Regions from separate parts of the Homo sapiens genome. Here region 2 is linked to region 1. Evidence: promoter capture Hi-C in human tissues and cell types (Jung and others, 2019). All regions are on one chromosome and are shown on one strand. Each heading gives the region's core, a stretch centred on a gene start or on the middle of the fragment in contact. The rest is flanking DNA. Distances are from core to core; before and after follow the strand shown.

Evidence for each region. The method cuts DNA at HindIII sites, captures the fragments that hold promoters and counts their contacts. A contact is called where the count stands out against the background at its distance.
Region 2: a contact is called between a fragment that was not itself captured here and the fragment with the promoter of ZNF558 in region 1, in 1 of the 25 tissues and cell types used here (dorsolateral prefrontal cortex).

Annotation. Positions count from the first base shown.
Region 1 is chr19:8,830,057-8,833,960 of GRCh38, forward strand. It overlaps ZNF558 (zinc finger protein 558), which reads right to left and starts at 2,248. Exons shown (of 10, transcript NM_144693.3): 1 at 2,153-2,248; 2 at 1,262-1,345. It overlaps MBD3L1 (methyl-CpG binding domain protein 3 like 1), which reads left to right and starts at 2,321. Exons shown (of 3, transcript NM_001393532.1): 1 at 2,321-2,466. RefSeq lists silencers at 2,028-2,297, 2,798-3,057. The HindIII fragment of the contact is 13,119 bases long and covers 1-3,904 here.
Region 2 is chr19:9,801,591-9,805,523 of GRCh38, forward strand. It overlaps LOC124904635 (a long non-coding RNA gene), which reads left to right. Exons shown (of 3, transcript XR_007067134.1): 3 at 332-826. Among named protein-coding and RNA genes, the nearest start is that of FBXL12, 16 kb to the right of the region's middle. The HindIII fragment of the contact is 4,629 bases long and covers 1-3,933 here.

The DNA of each region.
Region 1 (3,904 bases), core at 998-3,497:
ACTGAATCATGGGGGCGGACTTCCCCCTTGCTGTTCTCCTGATAGTAAGTTCCCACAAGATCTGATGGTTTAGAAGTTTGGCGTTTATGTCTTCTCTCTCTCTCCTGCTGCCATGTAAGACGTGCCTTGCTTTCCCTTTGCTTTCTGCCATGATCGTAAGTTTCCTGAGGCCTCCCCCGCCATGCAGAACTGAGTCAATTAAACTTCTTTCCTTTGTAAGTCACTCAGTCTCAGGGAGTTATTTATAGCAGTGTGAAAACTCTCAGGTAGTTCTTTATAGCAGTGTGAAAAAGGACTAATACAGGAGGCAAGGTGCAGAGGACAATCTTTTTGGAAACCAGTTCCCTACCCTTCAATCTATAAGTTGTTGCTTAATATTCTTCCAAATGTTTTCAAATCTCATTAGGAAAAAAAAAATCCCATTACTCAAAACACATCTGGTCGCCGGTCAATTTAATTTTAAATTTGTTACTAATAAATCATCCTTTTTACAAATGCCCTTATATTTTGAAGTTTGGTGGAGGGCCAATATGCCTTTAGAAATCAAATCAACAGCTGGGTGCGGTGGCTCTTGCCTGTAATCCCAGCACTTTGGGAGGCTGAGGTGGGCGGACCACTTGAGGTCAGGAGTTAAAGACCAGCCTGGCCAACATGGCAAAAACCTGTCTCTACTAAAAATACAAACAAAATTAGCTGGGCGTGGTGGCACTTGCCTGTAGTCCCAGCTACTCAGGAAACTGAGGCAGGAGATTTGCTTGAGTCTGGGAGGTGGAGGTTGACATGAGCCAAGATCGCGCCACTGCACTCCAACCTGGCCAACAGAGTGAGACTTGGTCTCAAGAAAAAAAAAAAAAGTCAAATCAAACAGGCCTGAAAAATGTTGCTAAGTAGTCCTGCTAGTTGTTAGTGGGAAGACTTGTAACACTACATATACATGTAAATATTTTCTATACTTATATAAAATTCAGAAACTTTTAGCATTACGGCATACCAGAAAATCTGTCTTTAGCTACAGTTACACATCTTTACGTTATTTGTATGTTTGTTTTGTGGATACTTATTTGCATGTAACTGTATTTACTTATTTACACACATGTAACCATAAACACCTCTGTCTTTTTACCTTGAACTTTCCTTAAGATACCTTCACTCTTAGTGACTTCAATGTGGTTACAACCCCAGCACAGGAAAAGCCCACGAGGAGTTCTTCTACACAGCAGAGCCTGCTGAAACCTTGTTGTAGGTTCCACACTGTACTCACCTGGTCACCCAAAAACCCACAACAACAGGTGGACCTTGTGGCAGGCTTCAACACGAATCTGAGCTTGAATGATGCTTTTCTCATCTGAAAAAAAAAAAAAGACACAAAGATTTCTTTCGAGGCTTTGTATAGGTTGTACAGTTGTTGGATACGGCTGCCGGAAACACCATCCCATTCACTTTTTTTGGGTACTCAATGATTAAATGTGTAATAAGGGCCCAGCCTGTGGGCCATGACTGGCTTTACCTGATTCCCATCTGGCCATCTGCTCCGTAAGAGGGGAGAAAGCAGCTTAACGCTGTGTGCATTTGACTTGCTCAACTTACTACGCTGGAGAGAGATTCTATGGTGACTCCACAGGCTTTAAAAATATCTTGTCACTTAGAGGCCCTATTAAGTGACTAAACTGAATTTTTAACAATTTATGTAGTTTATTCAGAACTGCAGAGATTTTTTTTTTAAGGCCCTAGAGCAGGGTTTCCCAACCTGGCACTACTGATAATTCTTTGTTGTGGGGGACTGTCCTGTACAACGTAGGATCTTTAAGAGCAAGCAGCGTCCCTCTTCCCCGGCCTCCACCCTCTAGGTGACAGTAGCAGCCTCCCCTCCCCACAATTTGTGAAAACCACAGTCGTCTCCAGCTACAGCCAAAAGTCCCCTGGGGTGCGGAATCGCCCCGGGTGAGGGCGACTGGGGTTCCCTGAGGAGGCAACAGCGGCGCGGGGCCCCGACCCAGGAGCAAGCAGCAGCTTCGTGCTGACCTAAGCTCACAGCCCGAGGCCTCATGAACCGAAACACGGCTCCCTGGAGGGACGCAGGGCCCGTGGCTGGCGGTGTCCGCGGCCCACGTCGCCCCCTGGACTCGGACCCGAGCCCCCGCCAGTCGCTCACCGAGCCCGGCCCCTCCCGCGGGGCCAAAAGCGCCGACTCGCGGGGACGGAGGGACTCGCTCCCCGCTGCCCCACGCGCGGCCCCTCCCACGGTACCGCCCCGCGCTTCCGCTTCCGGTCTGGGGAGAGGTGCGCTGCACGTCCCCTTCCGGCTCGCGCGGGCAGCCTCGCAGAGTCGAGCGTGTTGGGGGTTCGGCGCTTAGGCGACAGGCGCGGCGGGCGGGAGCGGCGGCCGCGAACCCCAGCCTTGGGCAGAGGTGTTCTAGTTTGCTTAGTGGGCACAAAGTTGGGCCCTGGCCTGGGGCAGTAGCGGGGGTAAGGTTGGCCCTGGGGGCGGGGCCAGGCTGTGAGCCGCACGAGGCCTGGGGGCGGGGCTGGTTGTGGGCGGAGATCAGTTCCGGGGCGGGGCTGAAGGCGGGGAACCGGCTGAGGCCGTACCAGGCCTGGAGGGCGAGGCTGATTGGGCAGAGACCAGTTCCAGGGTCGGGGCTGTGGGTGGGGCCCAGTTCTCGGGGCGGATGGTATAAGGCTTCTAGAGCGGGGATGACTGAGCAGAGACCAGTTACAGGGGTGGAGACCTCCATTTCCGGGGCGGGGCTGAGCGGGAACCAGGCTGTGGTTGTGACAGCCCTGGAGGTTGGGGCTGGCTGTGGGCGGAGATAAGCTCCGGGCCGGGCGGAGGGCGGGGACTAGGCTGTGGGTGTACCGGTCTTGGAGGGCAGTGGTGATTGGCAGAGAGCAGTTCTAGGGGCGGAGCTATGGGGTGGCAGCAAGCCTGGGGGCGGGGCTGACTGTGGGCGGAGACCAGTTCTGGGGGCGGGACTGTGGGCTGCACCAGGCCTGGGGAGGGGGCAGTGGGTGGAGACCAGTTCCAGGGGCAGGGATCTGGGTATGAATAAAAGGGTGTATGATGTGGGTGGGTTGGGATAGGCCCAGGAGCCAGGATTGTGGGAGATCAGATTCAGGGGTAGGGCCTTCCTTGGATCCCTAGATTGTTGATACAGTTACTGCCCCATGTTCATACAACCCAATAGGATCAGATTATGTATGCACATTTGTCTATAACTTGCTTTCCCAAGGCAGAACATAGTGATTTAACACTAAGAGTTTAGGGGAGCAGGAGAGGACTGGGTCATAGATACACATATAGGAAAACTTAAGAATGGTACAAAGTCAGTCAAATATTCTCCCACCACGGTCTTTCAGTTCTTTTGCTCAGAGGCAAAAATAATTTTCTCCTCTATCTTTCCAGATATAGTGTGGACATGTATGTGTGTGTATGTGTGTATGCCGTAGTCATATTCATGGAATAAATGCTATTACCTCCCCCCCAACAAGTCTCTGTTTTATACACCATGGATATAGACTGAACAAAATAGGTAAACGTCCTTGCCCTCAGAGAACGTGCATTTTAGTTGTGAGTTGGGCAGGAGAAATGGACAGTGAATGTGATAAATAGAATACATGGTGGGTTGGTGCGTTAGATACCACTAAGTGCTGGTTGGACCTGGTGGCTTACGCTTGTAATCCCAACACTTTGGGAGGCCGAGGCAGGCAGATCACCTGAGGTCAGGAGTTCGAGACCAGCCTGCCAACATGGTGAAACCCCGTCTCTACTAAAAATACAAAATTAGCCGGGCGTGGTGGCGGATGCCTTGTAATCCCAGGTACTTGGGAGGCTGAGGCAGGAGAATAGCTTGAACTCGGGAGGTGGAGGTTGAAGTGAGCCGAGATTGCAGCCGGTGCACTCCAG
Region 2 (3,933 bases), core at 839-3,338, 970 kb after region 1:
TCAGGTGATCCACCCGCCTCGGCCTCCCAAAGTGCTGGGATTACAGGCTTGAGCCATCGCGCCCGGGCTATTTATTTTTCTTTTTTTAATTTTAATTTTAATGTTTCATAGAGACAGGGTCTCCCCATGTTGCCCAGGCTGGTCTAGAACTCCTGGGCTCAAAGGACCCTGCCTCAACCTCCCAAAGTGCCAGGATTACAGGTGTGAGCGACTGCGTCTGGCCTACATTTGTGATTTAAATCAGCACATTTCTCATCTCTCAGAACTCCTCAATAACCATCGGTTGGAAAAAAGAGCAAAAAACCTAAATGTATTTATATGTAATCTCTAGGAGTTAACCTCACCGAAAGATACAACCGATTTAAGAAGAAAATGTTAAAACTCTCTTCAAGGGCCTATAGAAGAAACGGGATGAATGGAAACGTGATTCACTCTGTGGACTGGCAGATACCTCTGGAAATCTGGTGTTCTATTGTAATAAGTTCTCGGGAAGGTAGAGACTTTTATTTGGGACATAGAGGCTTGGCCAACCAGAATGGAGGACCCACCCAAGTCCCGCCCCCAAGCCTGAGCCCTCTCCTTTGCTCCACCCACTCTGCCTGAAGTCCCCTCAACCCCTCCGACTTCGCAGTCTCCCAGCCCGGCCTTCTGGGGCTGGTCTTCATTGGAAGCCACGCCCCCAGGTCTGTCGGATAAACATTTTACAACCTATTCTCTCTGAAGTCTAGTACCTGGAGGCTTCCTCTGGAAATAAGAACTTGGGTCTCCCGCCTGGCCAACATGACGAAACCCCGTCTCTACTAGAAATACAAAAATTAGCCGGTCGTGGTGGCACACACCTGTAATCCTAGCTACTCAGGAGGCTGCGGCAGGAGAATTGCTGGAACCCGGTAGGCGCAGGTTACAGTGAGCTGAGGTCGTGCCACTGCACTCCAGCCTGGGCGACAGAGCGAGACTGCGTCTCCGAAAAAAAAAAAAAAAAAAATTAGCCGGGCATGGTGGCGGGCGCCTGTAATCCCAGCTATTCTGGTGGCTGAGCCAGGAGAATCGCTTGAACCCGGGAGGTGGAGGTTGCAGTGAGCCGAGATGGTGCCATTGCACTCCAGGCTGGGCAACAAGAGCGAGACTCCATCTCAAAAAAGAAAAAAGAAAAAAAAAAAAAAGAACTTGGGTCTCCACAACCTCAAGCCTCCTCTCAAAAAAAGAAAAAAAGTTTTAATCTCCCTATAAGCTGGAATCCCCACTCCCACCCCACCCCAGCTCCCGGTTTGAGCTGTCCTGCCATTCTGGAACAAATGAATGTATTTCTTTTCCTTTTTTTTTTTTTTTTTTTTTGAGACGGTGTCTCGCTCTGTCACCCAGGCTGGAGTGCAGTGGTGCCATCTCCGCTCACTGCAACCTCCGCCTCCCTGGTTCAAGCGATTCTCCTGCCTCAGCCTCCTGAGTAGCTGGGATAACTGGCGCGTGCCACCACACCCGGCTAATTTTGTATTTTTAGTAGAGACGGGGTTTCACCATCTTGGTTAGGCTGGTCTCGAACTCTGACCTCATGTGATCCGCCCACCTCGGCCTACCAAAGGGCTGGGATTACAGGCGTGAGCCACCGCGCCCGGCCAATATATTTCTTAAATGTATTTGATTGAAGTCTCATGTCTCCCTAAAATGTACAAAACCAACTGCACCCCAGTCACCTTGGGCACATGTTCTCCTGGCCTCCTGAGGGCTGTATCACCGGCCATGGTCACTCATATTTGGCTCAGAATGAATCTCTTAAAATATTTTACAGAGTTTGACGCTTTTCGTCGACATTGCTTAGGCTGGCATCGAATTCCTGGGCTCAAGCTGTAATTGCCGGAGGGTTCTTCCTGCCCACTGCATAAAGAAAGACAATGGCATTGTAGTAAAGGAAGAGTTTAGTGGACATGAGGCTGGCCATGCCACGTGGGAGTCGAAGTTCCTACTCAAATCATCTCAAAGCTCCTAGGTTAGGGGTTTTCCAAAGACAGTTTGGGGGAACGGGTGGGGATGGCAGAGTAACAGGTGCTTGCTGCTGATTGGTTGGGGCAGATGCAATCATAGGGGGGTCGAAGCCTTCCTCCTACAGGCTGAATCGATTTTGGGTGGGGCCATAGGAGCAGGGTTGACGGGTCCATGAGGAGTGTTAGGTGTCAGACATGCAATAAAACCTGAAAGGGTATCTCCAAAGGCCAATCTGGGGTTCTGCAATAGTGGTGTTATTTGCAGGAGTAATTGGGGAAGTTGCATATCTCATAACCTCTGGAATAGTGGCTGACATACATTTCTGCGCCTTTGCAGGAATCAGGCTCCTCTCCTGCTGATGGCTCCCCATTAGTTTTACCAAAGCGATTGAGTTTTAGGCAAAGCTTATTATCACCTAAACTATAGCCTAAATGTTTCTTAAAGTTACCTCAGCCCAATAGCCCAGGAAATATTAAGGGAAAGGGAAGATGGGGGGTGGATTGGCTCAGATCTCTTTCACTGTCATAATTTTCTGATATATATTTTTTTGAGACAGGGTCTCACTCTGTTACCCAGGCTAGAGTGCAGAGGTGCAATCACAGCTCACTGCAGCCTCGACCTCCCCAGGCTCAAATGACCTGCCCATTCTGGAGTTCATTCAGCCTCACAAAATGTTGGAATTACAGGCGTGAGCCACCTCGACTGTCCTGATTATTATTTTTGCAAAGGCAATGGTTGACAAAGAGTCAAACTCTGTAAAATATTTGAAGAGATTTATTCTGAGCCAAATATGAGTGACCATGGCCCACGACACAGCCCTCAGGATGTCCTGAGAACATGTGACAAAAGTGGTTGGGGTGCAGCTTGGTTTTATATATTTTAGGGAGACATGAGACATCAATCAAACACATTTAATAAATACATTGGCTTGGTCCAGAAAAGCAGGACAACTCAAAGCAGGAAGCTTCCACGCTATAGGTAAATTTAAACTTTTTTTTTTTTTTTTTTTTTGAGATGGAGTTTCGCTCTTGTTGCCCAGGCTGGAGTGCAATGGTGTGAACTCGGCTCACCGCAACCTCCGCCTCCCAGGTGCAGGCGATTCTCCTGCCTCAGCCTCCCGAGTAGCTGGGATTACAGACATGTGCCACCACGTCCGGCTAATTTTGTATTTTTAGTAGAGACGGGGTTTCTCCATGTTGGTCAGGCTGGTCTCGAACTCCCGACCTCAGGTGATCCGCCTGCCTCTGCCTCCCAGTGTTGGGATTACAGGCGTGAGCCACCGCGCTCGGCCATATGTGCAATTTATTACATGTTAATTATACCTCAGTGAAGCTGTAGGGGCTGGGCATGGTGAGTAGTTCACACCTGTAATCCCAGCACTTTGGGAGGCTGTGGCAGGCAGATCGCTTGAGCCCAAAACTTTGAGACCAGCCTGGGCAATATGGTGAGACCCCATCTCTACAAAAAAAGAAAAATTAGCTGGGCATGGTGGCATGTGCCTATAGTCCCAGGTACTTGTGTGGCTGAGAGGGTAAGGAACACTACAGCCCTGGAGGTCAAGGCTGAGATGAGCCATGATGCGCTCTGGCCTGGGCAACAAAGCAAGACCCTGTCTCGAAAAAAAATTTTTTCTTTTTTTCCTAAAGAATGTGTAGGCCAAGTTAACCCTCCAGACAGGTAAGAATGTGATATGTGTCATAGCCTGTAATTTATACAATAACATCAAGGCTGCTTTGGTCCAAGGGCAGGATCTATGGCGAGTATATGTTCTTACACAAGAACAGTAAATAAAGTAGAAATCCTGGCTGGGTGCAGTGGCTCATGCCTGTAATCCCGGCACTTTGGGAGGCCAAGGTGGGCGGATGGCTTGAGCCCAAGAGTTCAAGACCAGCCTGGGCAACATGACGAAACCCTATGTCTTAAAACAAAAAACAAAAAAAAACAAAAAACCAC